Regions from separate parts of the Homo sapiens genome. Here all the other regions are linked to region 2. The links are contacts of gene promoters, found by promoter capture Hi-C in human tissues and cell types (Jung and others, 2019). All regions are on one chromosome and are shown on one strand. Each heading gives the region's core, a stretch centred on a gene start or on the middle of the fragment in contact. The rest is flanking DNA. Distances are from core to core; before and after follow the strand shown.

Evidence for each region. Contacts are between HindIII fragments. The study calls those that stand out against the background at their distance.
Region 1: a contact is called between a fragment that was not itself captured here and the fragment with the promoter of APOD in region 2, in 2 of the 25 tissues and cell types used here (spleen and thymus).
Region 3: a contact is called between a fragment that was not itself captured here and the fragment with the promoter of APOD in region 2, in 2 of the 25 tissues and cell types used here (H1 embryonic stem cells and lymphoblastoid cells).
Region 4: a contact is called between a fragment that was not itself captured here and the fragment with the promoter of APOD in region 2, in 2 of the 25 tissues and cell types used here (lymphoblastoid cells and spleen).
Region 5: a contact is called between a fragment that was not itself captured here and the fragment with the promoter of APOD in region 2, in 2 of the 25 tissues and cell types used here (dorsolateral prefrontal cortex and spleen).

What each region holds. Positions count from the first base shown.
Region 1 is chr3:195,112,897-195,115,596 of GRCh38, forward strand. All of the region lies in intron 3 of XXYLT1 (xyloside xylosyltransferase 1), which reads right to left. Among named protein-coding and RNA genes, the nearest start is that of XXYLT1-AS1, 20 kb to the left of the region's middle. The HindIII fragment of the contact is 3,156 bases long and covers 1-2,700 here.
Region 2 is chr3:195,582,603-195,585,302 of GRCh38, forward strand. It overlaps APOD (apolipoprotein D), which reads right to left and starts at 1,338. Exons shown (of 5, transcript NM_001647.4): 1 at 1,276-1,338. RefSeq lists an enhancer at 789-958. The HindIII fragment of the contact is 4,834 bases long and covers 858-2,700 here.
Region 3 is chr3:195,843,711-195,846,422 of GRCh38, forward strand. All of the region lies in intron 1 of LINC01983 (long intergenic non-protein coding RNA 1983), which reads right to left. All of the region lies in intron 1 of LOC107984010 (a long non-coding RNA gene), which reads right to left. It also overlaps the pseudogene KIF3AP1. Among named protein-coding and RNA genes, the nearest start is that of LINC01983, 15 kb to the right of the region's middle. The HindIII fragment of the contact is 9,125 bases long and covers 1-2,712 here.
Region 4 is chr3:195,280,476-195,283,367 of GRCh38, forward strand. The region is part of intron 22 of ACAP2 (ArfGAP with coiled-coil, ankyrin repeat and PH domains 2); the gene reads right to left. Among named protein-coding and RNA genes, the nearest start is that of XXYLT1, 11 kb to the left of the region's middle. The HindIII fragment of the contact is 4,996 bases long and covers 1-2,892 here.
Region 5 is chr3:195,301,977-195,304,752 of GRCh38, forward strand. ACAP2 (ArfGAP with coiled-coil, ankyrin repeat and PH domains 2) reads right to left here. Exons shown (of 23, transcript NM_012287.6): 14 at 1-198. Among named protein-coding and RNA genes, the nearest start is that of XXYLT1, 32 kb to the left of the region's middle. The HindIII fragment of the contact is 3,704 bases long and covers 1-2,776 here.

The DNA.
Region 1 (2,700 bases), core at 58-2,557, 470 kb before region 2:
CCCCCAGCCTCCAGCCCCAGGTGGTGGGAACAGCTGGATGAAGCAGTCAAGAGAACATGGGTTTCAAAATCCAATCTGGGTTTCAACTGCAGCCATGCCCCTCACTCGCCGTGCCATCCCAGGCAAGCTGTTGCTCTTCTTTGAGCTTCAGCTTCCTCCCAGATAGGAACATTAATCCATACCCAGAGGCTGTGTGAAGATTAAACAGCATTTCATATGAGGAGCCCTCGCACAGAGCCTGGCAAGAGCCACTCCTTGGTCCGTGGACCTTCCCGTCTTTTCTCCCTTCCACAGTAAGGATGGAGCCGCCTCAGGAAAACATCTCCCACTGATTTCGCCGCAACTGCAGGATGGAAACGGAGGTGAACATCTGGCGGGAGCTCGGAAAAACGCCAGTTTCTGACACTATCTTCGACAAGCCAGGGAGTTGGGAAAGCTTGGGAGGGGAGTGGTGCACTAACGTATATTAACACTTACTACGAGGCAGGCACCGTTCCAAGAAGCTGACATGTTTTCAAGAATCTTAATTCTCAGAACATCCCTGATTAGGTAGTACGCTTATCCTTAACATAGGGGGAAACTGAGGCACAAAGCGGTTTACTGGTTTGTCCAAGGTCACAGGGCTATTAAATAGTGGAGCCAGGACCTGAACCCAGGCAGTGTGAACCCAGCACTCACGGTCTTTTTTGTTAGAATCCTTTTTCTCTTTAATCAGTTTTGGATTTCCCCTCTGTTTCATGAGCTTTTTGCTTTACTTTTTAGCCATTCATTCCACAAACACCTACTCGGAGCCAGGCCTGGGAATGCCGAGCTTGGCTGAGGGAGCCTGCACAGCACCCACAGGACCAGGCAAAGAGGCGGAAAGGGGTGTGGCCAGGAGAAAGGGTTGTGGCCAGGAGAAAAGGGTGGAAAGGAGCCCTGGGCATTCTGATAGTGCCAGAGGGTGCTCCTGAGGCCGGCGGGCAAAGAATGCTATGAAGAAGGGGTGTCTGAGTTGGCCATGAATGACAGAGAGGATTTCTCAAGGTAGAGATGGGTGAAGAGAAGTCCCTCCAGGTGGCAGGAACAGTGCAAGCAAAGATAAGCAGGTGAAAGCTTGGCACAGCATCTGGGAGCCATGAGTGCCCAATTTGGCTAGAGCGTACTGAGTCAGTGCCAGGTCACAAACGCCTTGAGTGCCAGACCCCTGGGTTGAAGATTCTGAATGCATTCCAAGATTCAATTAAGGAAGCAGGATGATCTGCCCATGATTTTGCCCACTTATGGTGGCAGCCAATCATCCTGCAACAACTGTGCCCCAGTCCACACGCTTCCAGGGAAAGCTGCATTGGGTGGCCCCCTTCTCGCTCCTCCACGTGAAGCCCTGAACTCAGCTGCCCAAATTTGTTTCTCCACAAAGTACAGCCACACCATTGCACCCAAAATGGAGGATCTGAGGGGCCAAGGAATGACTACTGCCTGGAGAGCCGGGAGACACGGAGCATCACCTTCCACCTGCGTTGAGCTTCTTTTCATTTCACTCCATGTACTAAATAAGCCATTTTGAGCACCTGCTCTGTGTACGGTCCTGTGCCTGGGTCCCATGAGACCCAAATCATTGTCATTTCTCTAGCACTTGAAACACATCTGTCCCCCTACACCCACAATCACATTATACAACCATGTCATCAACAAGTACATTTCTACTAAAAAGTTCCTGCTCATGACAGTGCTGGGAGGACATCTCTTTACACGTTTAATTACGAAGACCAGGACCAGACATGAAATCCTAATGACCCAAATGAACAGCACTTGATGTAGAAGGCAGCGCGGCTTTGCCCACATTCCCTGAACCTCTGTCAAGCTTGTGACAAGCTTTCGTCAATCAGACGAAACTAAGTGAAAAAGCAATCGCTTTTGGAGCACGCAGGAAGGTAGCAGTCTTACAGGCTTAGAAAACCAGGGAGGAGTGAAGCCGCTCAGTGGTCTCCCTGCCGGTGCAAGGAGGCTGCCACCTGCAGAAGGTGCTAACGCCAAGTGTGGGAAGACACCGGGGTCGGCCTGGGCGCAGTCACTCCTGGGTGGAGGCTGAGCTTGGGAGTGTGAATGCCGCAGGCCCCACCCGTTCCACTCGTCAAAATCGTACCTAGCTGAGGTTGCACAGTTGGCTCCTCCCAAACCTCCCGTTGATCCTCCTCCTATTGAGAGGTTGGAACGAGGGAAACTAAGCTTCCCAGATGCCCAAACGGCGAGAGCTCGGGACGTGAATCAGGTGCTGCGACTCGGGAACTAGTGTGCTCACATGAGACGTGCCCGGTGAGAATGTGGCTTCTGGCTGTCACTGCTGGTTAGACGGTCCCAGTCACCTTGAACCCAGGTCGTGCTGCCGCTTCCTGAGTACCAGAAAAGCAGGGCAGTGGTGGTGATTTCTGTCCAAACTCCATAATCCTCAGACCTCAACTTAGACTGTTCATCCTTCAGCCTCCTAGAGAGTCCAGGAATGGCTGTGGGCTGGCAACAGCTGCTTCTGAACTAGCCAGGAGTCCTTCAAAAGGCCCAGCCGGAAACCTGCCCCTTGAGCCCCTCCAACAATGTTGTAAGCACCTAATTCCAACAAGAAACTCCTTCTGCTTACACCACCTGGAGTGGTTTCTGCTTCCTACGCGATCCCTGGTTGATAAACCCTGCCTGGCAAACCGAGCACGCGTGAAGGCCTCAGGA
Region 2 (2,700 bases), core at 88-2,587:
GTGGTGGCAAGTACCTGTAATCACAGCTACTCGGGAGGCTGATGCAGGATAATTGCTTGAACATGGGAGGCAGAGGTTGCAGTAAGCCAAGATCACACCATTGCACTCTAGCTTGGGCAACAGAGCAAAAACTCCATCTCAAAAAAACAAAACAAAAACAAACAAACAAAAAATACAAAAATTAGCTGGGCATGGTGGTGCAGTCCTGTAATCCCAGCTACTTGGGAGGCTGAGGCACAAGAATGGCTTGAACCTGGGAGGCGGAGGCTGTAGTGAGCCGAGATCGCGCCACTGCACTCCAGCCTGGGTGACAGAGTGAGACTCCGTCTCAAAAAAAAAAAAAAAGAAATATGATTTTTAACAGAATATGAGGTAATTAAAAAGCAATCCAACTAAGGTGACAGTGCATCCACCTTGGGCCTGGCACTAGCTGGAAATCACTGCTCCACTTGCATTAAGCTTACCCGTGGAGAAGCCCTGGTCCCAGGATTTTAAGGGTGCTATGCGCTCAGTCTCCACAGCACCTCCTCTGGAGGCGACCTCTGCTGACACTCTCTTCATACCAACGAGGTGAATTTGCCCGGGTTACTTCCTGGTAAACTACGAAGCCACAGTGTAAGCCTAGGCCTGGGGACAGGCTAGAATGTAAGCCTAGGTCTCCCACAAGCCCGCGCTCTTAGTGCCTGGGGACACAGCCCCTGACCTCAAAGATCTGCAGAACGTGAAGGACTAGATTTTGAAATTTCACCTCATAAAATAAAATAGGTTCCAATAAGTCATTAGGTCTCAAAGACTCATTTAGCCATTAAATATAACAAGACACGTATCTCCCAAACACAATATTTTATGCCATATTGTCAAATGCATTTTCTAGTCACACCATTAATTCCAGTTTCCAGATTATTTTACTGCGATGCACCGTTGGACAGCTTGCTGAGAATTCACCTAGGACGGTGTTTGTGCATGGAAACACCTCGTTGTCCAGTTTGGAGGGGTAAGCAAAAGACGCTGGGATGAGTTCACACTGGGTTTGGTTTTATCTTAGGCATGTTGCTAGTGTATCTGAACCTCAGCTTTATCACTGGAAAAATGGCTCTGATGATACCTACCTTGTACATTTGTTTGAGGAAAAATGAGAACAAGTCTAAAGCTACCGGCACAAGCTCTCAATCAGTGGTAGTTATATGTAGCTGAAATGGGGCAATGGAGAGTCTAGACTGTTTCTATTTTAGACATTATTATCATAAATGAAAAGCTTAAAACTACAGTACATACCTTTTCTTTCAAGATGAAGGCAGTTTCCAGATGCAGAATCAGCCGATTTGAGATGCCTGTCTTGGTGACTGGCCTCTCCCAAGCTATTTTATAAGCTTCTTCAGGTCTCTGATGTTTACTTTTCATGCATGCCACGCCCGCCGCCCCCATCCAGTCAGGAGGGTTGGCCTAAAAGCTTAGTCTGTATCGAAACACAAAGATGGGATGTTGTGTCCATCCTCCTCCCCCGATTTCCTTCACAGCTGCTCCCTGAAGAAGAAATGAGATATTGTTTTCGCGCGCGCGTGTGTGTGTGTGTGTGTGTGTGTGGGTATGTGTGCGAGAGAGAGAGAGAGTATGTGTGAGAGAAAGATAAAGTATATTTTCATCCAAAACATTTTTTTTTTTGCTATGTGGATTTTCTAATTTAATTTTTTTGGTCAGAATGCACTTTTAAGTTCCAGCAGGACGTGTTGCAACATGTTTTCAAACATCTGGTATTTATTTTTCATTTTTGTGTAAATGAAAAATCAACAAGCTCATTTCCTGAAGTGGAACATGGAGTTCCTGACTCCACTAATGGGAGTCAGGTAATGGCGCGAGGGTTATGAGTCAAAGCTGGCTTTCTCCAGGATCCTGGGCAGCCCCCTAACTTCTCTGAGCCACAGTCTCCTCGTTGTAAGTAGGGGCTGTCATTCTTTCTCCACCAGAGCCAGACGTGTAGGGGAGATACCAGTTCTCTAACAACTGGGGCTAAAAGTTGAGAATGCAGAAGACATCTTCTGTCGCTCTGTTCTCTGTCCCTTTTATGACCCTTGCAGCGAGAAGTTCAAGACAGTCTGTCACTGCTTGGGGGTGGGGGCCGGGGTGGTGGGGAGTGTGGACTTAAACCCAGGGGTGCTTTTGGTCCAGCCTTATCTCTCCTGGTGGAATGAACAACTTTGACTCTTGTGAGTGAGATTCTATGTCTTTGTGATAGGCAGGAGGTATGTTTAGAGACATTTAGATAAGGCAGTGCCTTCGTAGTAGACTTAGACTCCTAAATGAAATTCATTCTAAAATATGTAAGCAACAGAGATACATTTACAGCACTGAGTCTATAAACATGAAAACAACAACACAGATCCGTAACATCCCAAACGTTGTGAGCGCTTTCTTTAAGATGTTCTTTGCCTTTTCAGAAACATAAGAAATTCCTACTACCACCCAGGGCCTGCCTCTCGCTGACCTCCTGTGCTGCCCTCCCCTAAGAGCTCTGTGTAGCTCCCTTCCCCACTCCAGGTCCCTGATCAGATGACACTTTTCCCTAAAAAGCTTCCTGACCTTTCAAAAATAGCACTCTTGTCACTGTCCCTTTCCCTGCTTCATTATATCTTTACCTGAAATTCTCTCCTTTATTTATACATTATCCTGCTTAGTATGTTTTCCCCAGGAGGATAGGAGCTT
Region 3 (2,712 bases), core at 100-2,599, 260 kb after region 2:
GCGTGGTGGCTCTTGCCTGTAATCCCAGCACTCTGGAAGGCCGAGAGGGGTGGATCACAAGGTCAGGAGCTGGAGACCAGCCTGACCAACATGGTGAAACCCCGTCTTTACTAAAAATACAAAATTAGCCAGGCGTGGTGGTGGGCACCTGTCATCCCAGCTACTCGGGAGGCTGAGGCAGGTGGATGGCTTAGAACCCAGGAGGTGGAGGTTGGAGTGAGCTGATATCGCGCCACTGCACTCCAGCCTAGGCAACCAAGCAAGACTGTCTCCAAAAAAAAGTATTAAAAATAAAGCTAGATTTAATGAAGATCTGAAGGATGCTTTGCTTCATCAATTTCAGAAAGAAATAGAAGACCTGAAAAAGAAGCTCACAGAAGGGGAAGAAATATCAGGCTGTGATGTCAGTGGGTCGGACGGAGATGACAATGAAGAGGGTAAGATTGGAGAAGATGAAGAGAAAAGGAAAAAAGGGGGAAATAAAGTCTTCCCAGAGAGGACGGTTGAAACGCCGGCGACAGCGGATGCGGAGAGAAAGGCACTTGAAACAAAGCTTGACGTGGAAGAAGAAACAAGGCTGCAGCTAAATTCGAGAAACAGGAAAAAAGATCTTAAAACCCAACAAGAGCATCAGTCTTTGCCAGAAAAGTTCTCTGCCCTGGAGAAGAAGGTAATTGTTGGTGGCGTTGATTTGTTGGCCAAAGCCGAGGAACGAGAGAAACTTCTTGAAGAATCTCATACAGAGCTGGAAGAAAGGAGGAAAAGAGCAGAGCAACTTTGCAGAGAACTTGAGGGAAAAAGGTAAGAAGGCTTGGAAACTGAAGGAAAATAGACCAGTTTGCAAGAGGAACCACAGGGAAAGACCGAGATCTTAAAGAAAGTTTGGGCCGGGCGCAGCGGCTCACACCTGTAATCCCAGCACTGTGGGAGGCCGAGGTAGGAGGATCTCGAGGTCAAGAGCTCGAGACCAGCCTGGCCAACATCGTGAAACCCCGTCTCTACTAAAAAAGGAGGCTTGGTAGAGTTACTGGTTTATAGTGTGTTCTTTAAGAATCCTTATGTTGCCTATACCAATAGTTAGGGTGTTAAAATGTAATCGTATTCTCTGTTTGTGTTTAGATTATTATAAAGTAGAAATGTAATAAGGCGAGGAGGTTGCATCACACACTTGCCCCATGAATGGAATCCATTCCATATGCTATTTCATTCACTTTCTGGAGAAAGGGGAATTTTTTTGCAGCAAAAATTTCAGGTGACTTTGTGGTAGGGGGCGGTGCTACTTCATCTGTAACATATTTTTAAAACCATGATTATGCTTTGGGTTTTTTGTTTTTTTTTTCTTTTTGCTTTGCTTCTGTTTCTTTTTAGTCTGTTTTTAATATCCTTCCCCTTCACTTTAATCTCAAGGAAAGTCCTCTTTCCTGCAGGGCTGTGAATTAAAGAATGGGCAGAGTTTACGTTTAAGTAAGCCAGTGTCTGCTCAATTTCCTAATGTACACATTTGTTTTCTTTTTAATTATTCCTTGTTCTTAAAAATACTAGGAGAGGCCGGGCACAGTGGCTCATGCCTGTAATCCCAGCACTTTGGGGGGCCGAGGTAGGTGGATCACCTGAGGTCAGGAGTTCAAGACCAGCCTGAACAACATGGTGAAACCCCGTCTCTACTACAATTACGAAATTAGCCGGGCGTGGTGGTGCATGCCTGTAATCCCAGCTACTTGGGAGGCTGAGGCAGGAGAATTGCTTGAACCCGGAAGGCAGAGGTTGTGGTGAGCCGAGATCGTGCCATTACACTCCAGCCTGGGCAACAAGAGTGAAACTCCGTCTCAACAAAAACAAAAACAAAAATCCTAGAAGAATAGAAGAAAACATAGATCTTTTTCTTTCTTTCTCATTCTTTCGTTCTTTCTTTCTTCTCTCTCCTTCCTCCCTCCCTCACTCTTTTTCTTTCTTTCTTTCTCTTTCTTTCTTTCTTTCCTTTCTTTCTCCATCCTTCCTCCCTTCCTCCCTCTTTCTCGCTTGCTCTCTCTCTTTCTCTCTTTATCTCTTTCTTTCTTTCTTGTTCTCACTTTGTCACCCAGGCTAGAGTGCAGTGGTGCAATCCCCACTCACTGCAGCTTCAACCTCCTGAGGTTCAAGCGATCCCCCTGCCTCAGTCCCCCAAGTCTGAGACTACAGGCATGCACCACCTCTTCAGGCCAATTTTTGTATTTTTTGTAGAGATGCATTTTTACCATGTTGCCCAGGCTGGGAAAACATAGATTTTCTAGTGCCCTTAAACTTATGATGTAATCTAACTCATTTAAATAATTAATAACTTCAGCAGTATTACTGCAATACTGTATACTGGCCAAAATTACAAAGTGAAGAGTAAGTCAGCTGCATCAATTTCAAAAGGCATGCTTTCATTGTACTTTATGTATAAATTGTATCTGTTCAAGTTGTATATATTGATATTGTTGTATATATGCAGCATGGTTAAATAAGAATAACAATTTTTTACCTAAAAAAAAAAAATAAATGGAAATAGCAGTAATCCTGGACCAGAGGAGAGCACTGGATCTCAACCTAGAATGGAGGCCCTCCTACAGACACCCTGGCCTGTGAGGGAGCAGGGCCCAGGGTAGGGGACCCAGGAGGTCTGGCCGTGCAGATCGATTATGGAAGCTGTGAACAGTGGAGAAGAGTTATGCTTTGTTATTTTGTTTTGCT
Region 4 (2,892 bases), core at 382-2,881, 300 kb before region 2:
AAAAATAAAAAAAAGAAAATGGCTTTAAAATCAGTTTTGCATTTAAAAGTTGGGTTTGTTTTTGTTTTACTGCAGGTCATATGAGCAAGAATGCTATGACAAAATGCAAATAAATACCAAGGACATCTGTTAAATTAGAAAAATAAACGTGTATATGTACAAATATGTTTACCGAGAAATAGATTATAGATACTGATATTATAGCTGACTGAATACCATTTTTCTTGTCATGAGAAACTAAATATACACACACATACAGATCAATCCCTCAGACGAAGGAATCTTATTTTCAAGATAAATCGTTGATCATGAATGCTTCCTGCTAAACATTAGCCTTATACAAATGCTTGGCATAATTCTGTTCTCAAGATTTCAACCATAAAATACTGTTTTTGATTATTATTGTAACATTTTAAAATTATCTCCTATAAGATACCTTGCATCCACCTTATAACACACTCATTGCTACAGATGTTGTTAATAGTGCAGTAAGTTTTGTCAGTTTTTAAAAAGTGAGATTTTTGAAGCAAGAGATGTCATACCAAAAGCTAGAGAATTAGAAAAAAGTTGAGGATAGGAGTAAAGATCTAGTAAAAAGGTCTAACAGCATAAGCCAAGATTTTGAATTAAAAAAATGTTAATACTTTTGGCCCGGCCGGGTGGCTCACGCCTCTAATCCCAGCACTTTGAGAGGCCGAGACGGGCGGATCACGAGGTCAGGAGATGGAGACCATCCTGGCTAACACGGTGAAACCCCGTCTCTATTAAAAATACAAAAAATTAGCCGGGCGTGGTGGTGGGCGCCTGTAGTCCCAGCTACTCGGGAGGCCAAGGCATGAGAATGGTGTGAACCCGGGAGGCAGAGCTTGCAGTGAGCCAAGATCGCGCCACTGCACTCCAGCCTGGGCAACAGAGCGAGACTCCGCCTCAAAAAAAGAAAAAAAAGGAAAAAAAATCTAATACTTTCTAGTCACTTTTTGTATTTAGTCTAGGTAAAAAGCAACTATTAACATCTCTATATAGTTTTCATTTAGCCCTGGAAATTTATTCCCGACCTGAATCAATCAATTAAACCTCATCAGTCTACTTTAAAAAGAAAAAAACAGTAAGAAGAGATTATTAACAGGTGGCTGAGAGTAACATCTAACTCATATTGACATGACTAAAATAAAAGGTTGATACGTTGGAACAGCTGGTAAGACAATCCAATTATACCCATGGTTTTGTAAAAGTTCACTTCCACATCAAAAGACAAACATTGCTATTCTCATTTTAACCATTCTAAAAGATAGAAAATAAATAGAGCAACATTAAATAGCAACAAACCATATAAAATATTTTTTCTAATTTGCAGATGTTGAATTAAAATATGTAAAATATTTATTGTAAACATTATAAATATTTTTAAAAGACTATTTAAACTGGATAGTCTGGAATTTTCCTTTCCAAGAAAGTGTAAAGTGCAGAGTATAATACAAAAATACCACAAAGATTTTACCATTCAACACTAGAAGTAACTTAAAAGGCACACATTATACATTCAAGAAGAAATAGGAAGAAGGGTCTAGCAGACGTTAATACCAAATAGTCTACAGGTAGCACCAGATGAGCACTGTTAAGTATTACAACAGTACAATGGCAATATATGGCTTCTACTATTAGCAATGCATATTTTGTATAACAAGCTATGGAACTTTTTAAATGGTTTCTCCGGTTTTGTTTTTAAATCATCTAGTACCTATTACACAAGTATATTTTAGTAGAACCATTGTACCATGCAAAACAAATTATAAGACTCAAATGCTTCCTTGAATGAAAGTGTTGGTGCTATAATAATCATTGGTTTCACTGACTGAATACATTTAAAAAGTGTTAATATAATACAAAAGGAAGTTGCCACCTTCACATACACACAAAACTTTTTGTTAACATTTAGTTTCTAACAAAACATTAATTAATGCACTGTTAATGTACTACCTTTCTTAGATCTCAAAATGTGTTGTCAAAAGCAAATGTTACAAGAACAATAGTGACCAAGATATTTAATACAGCTAACACAAATTGAACTTCAATGTGATTTTTTAATATTTAAATATAATTTTGATTACTTAGAATTTTTCCCAAGGCAAATATAATTTGTCTACATTGGAACACATAAACAACAACCCAGAATATGCTGCCATGGAATGTTCCCAGAAATACATTTAACAGTTTATTATAAATGGTAAACAACTCATCACTCAACATTTATAATACTAAGCATATTCTTTAAACTTAACCACATTCTATTTCCCCTCAGACAGTTAACTTTTCTATGTGCCTGGACAGCTCTAAGTTTTTAAAATGCAGACTGCTGTGTTTCCACTGACAGTTTAAATTCACTTTTAATTTTTGGTATTCAGAATATCTACCACAACAGCAGTTATGATGATTCAAGAGTTTGCTAATTTTGCTCTTGAAATGTACTCCCCTCACCTCACAGGGACGGCAGCACATGAGACCCACCCCAGGTCATCCTATGCACGACCTTACCCCTTCTGGGTGGGTAACAGCTTACTTTCATAATTACTTAGATCAGCGATTCCCAACTTGTGCTTGCTACATACTCACATAACCAGTAGCGGGTCCCTAAAGCAGTGATGATTCTCAACTGGCTGAGAGCCTGCCAACGATCAAGAAGAGTCACAGAGCCAGAGACTGTGGGAACCACCAAACCGGTTTCCAACAACTGAGAGAAGAGTGTGCTGTTTCCCTCACCCACCCATGTCTCCTAAGGGCTACTGGGACTGCCAAAGAGAGACACACCTTCTTTTGAAGAAAACGTGTGCTCTCAATCACCCCACGCAAGAAACAGGGAGTCCCAGGTCCCTAGGGTTGTACAGATAGAAAGTT
Region 5 (2,776 bases), core at 70-2,569, 280 kb before region 2:
GGAGCACTCGATACACAAGGTGATGCCCAGGTTGATGCTGGCCCACCGTGGATCTGCCAGGCCACAGTCACAACAGCTGGCATTGCCAGGGATACACTGGACCCGCTGAAGCGCACTTTCTCCTTTCAATAATTTCTCTTTGGACTCATTTCCAGAATCTAGGCTTCCTGTGGATGGAGATGATTTCTTATCCAGCTTCTAAAAGAATTAAGAATTACTTGTTTTTAAAAAAAAAAAAGATTGAAATACTTTGTTGCACACTACATGCTCCAAACTAAAGCTTCCAATCAATAAATTAAAGGCCTGTTACAGGCATAAGCAAGGCAATAGTCTAGCTAGAAATTCAAGGATAAAAAGATGTAGGTTCTTCCATCAGTGAGCTTTTATTCCAGTGGGGAGAAACGTGTAAACATTTAAAATTATATATAATAAATGACACAATGAACATATGTACAAAAGATGAAGACAGAAAGGGAACACTAGTCTAACATGCAGGGTGGAGACAGAGGAAATAGGTAAGGGATTATTCAAACTCAAGAATGAAATAAATATTATTGTTTTATACCACACTTTTCCAAGGCGTTCAATAAACTTTAAGCTAGTCATTGTTTTTTTTTTCAGACCTCTCAGGGATAAGGCAAGTTAATTACTGCAGTGAGTAACTAGGAAAGGTATGAGCTTATATAAATAGTAAAGAAGAGATCAACTACAAAATTATAACTACAGAGTGAATCAAATATAGAACATACAATGTTTAAAACTTCAAGGGATATTAGGTAAAAGAGAAGAAAAGCAAAAGATGGCTGATTAACAAAAAGTTAATTTTTTGGCCGAGAGCGGTGTCACCCCTGTAATCCCAGCACTTTAGGAAGCTGAAGCGGGAGGACCACTTGGGTCCAGGTGTTCAAGATCAGCCTGGGCAACAGAGCAAGAGCCTGTCTCTAAAAAAGAATATGTCTGGGCACAATGGCTCATGTCTGTAATCCCAACACTTTGGGAGGCTGAGGCGGGTGGATCACTTTAGGCCAGGAGTTCAAGACCAGCCTGGCCAACACAGTGAAACCCTGTCTCTACTAAAAATACAAAAAAATTAGCTGGGCGTGGTGGCGCACACCTGTGATCCCAGCTACTCAGGAGGCTGAGACATGAGAATAGCTTAAACCCAGGAAACGGAGGTTGCAGTGAGCCAAGATCATGTTGACAAGAGTGAGACTCCAACCTGGGTGACAGAGTGAGACTCCGTCATATGAGCGTAAATACATACATACATACAAACATACAAATTAGCTAGGCATGGTGATGCACACCTGTGGTCCCAGCTACTCAGAAGGCTGAGGCATGAGAATTGCTTAAACCCGGGAGGGGGCTATTGTAGTAAGCCAAGATCATGCCACCGCACTCCAGCCTGGGTGACAGAGTGAGACTCCATCATATGTACATAAATACATACATACATACAAATTAGCTAGGCATGGTGGTGCACACCTGTGGTCCCAGCTACTCAGAAGGCTGAGGCATGAGAATCACTTAAACCCAGGAGGCAGAGGTTGCAGTGAGCCAAGATCATGACACCGTACTCCAGCCTGGGTGACAGAGTGAGACTCCATCATATGTACATAAATACATACATACATACAAACAAATAAGCTAGACATGGTGGTAAGCACCTGTGGTCCCAGCTACTCAGGAGACTGAGGTAGGAGGACTGCTTGAGCCCAGGAGGTCAAGGCTGCAGTGAACTATGATCACACCACTGCATTCCAGCCTGGGAAACAGGGCAAGACTCTGTCTCCCCGCCATCCTGCTACATGGCCATAATGACCGAATACAAAGATGTGGTACTTAGATCCTAAACAATGACAGATATGGTCTATAAAAAGTCTTCTGGTTTAAAAACATTTCAGGTCAGGCAAAGTAGCTCATGCCTGTAATCTCAGCACTTTGGGAAGCCGAGGTGAGTGGATCACAAGGTCAGGAGTTCGAGAGCAGCCTGGCCAATATGGTGAAACCCTGTCTCTACTAAAAATACAAAAAAAAATTAGCCGGGCATGGTGGTACATGCCTGTAATCCTAGCTACTAGGGAGGCTGAGGCAGCAGAATCGCTTGAACCTGGGAGGTGGAAGTTGCAGTGAGCTGAGACCGTGCCCCTGCACACCAGCCTGGGCAATGGAGTGAGACTCCATCTCAAAAAAAAAAAAAAAAAAAAAAAAAAAAAAAACTTCCCTGTAAGTTTAGGATTATTCCGAAATTTTAAGAAAGAAATATTTGTTTTACCAGAATATGTTCGATAATGGGAATTAGCAATTATGTAAGGAAAGAATATCAATATTATATTACAGAAATCATGTTGGTTCATTCCCAAGTTTTCTCTATATGCTAATGTTTTTGCACCAAATTAGAGAACTAAGTACACAAACACAGCAAAACTTGGGTCAGCCACTTCAAGGAACACAGCACTGAATATGACACCAATTCACGAAAGTATTAATAGGAGGAATGATTGTTTAAGCAGGACAGTTCAATCCTACTGTCGCTGCCCCCCATCTCCATGCCACTAGGGGATGACTGCTCTCTACACAAACACAATGACTGGAAGTTATTCTCTGGAGGATTAAAACAGAGTCTCTGAATCGACTTCACCTGAAAGGTGGAAGCCAGAGGATTAAATGAACATATACATACAATATGCTAAGATACCCAGTGCTTAGCTCCCCACCAATCCCTCATAGCTATGCAGGAGATCAATGAGTCTTCTCTGGGAAATCACATCAGCCG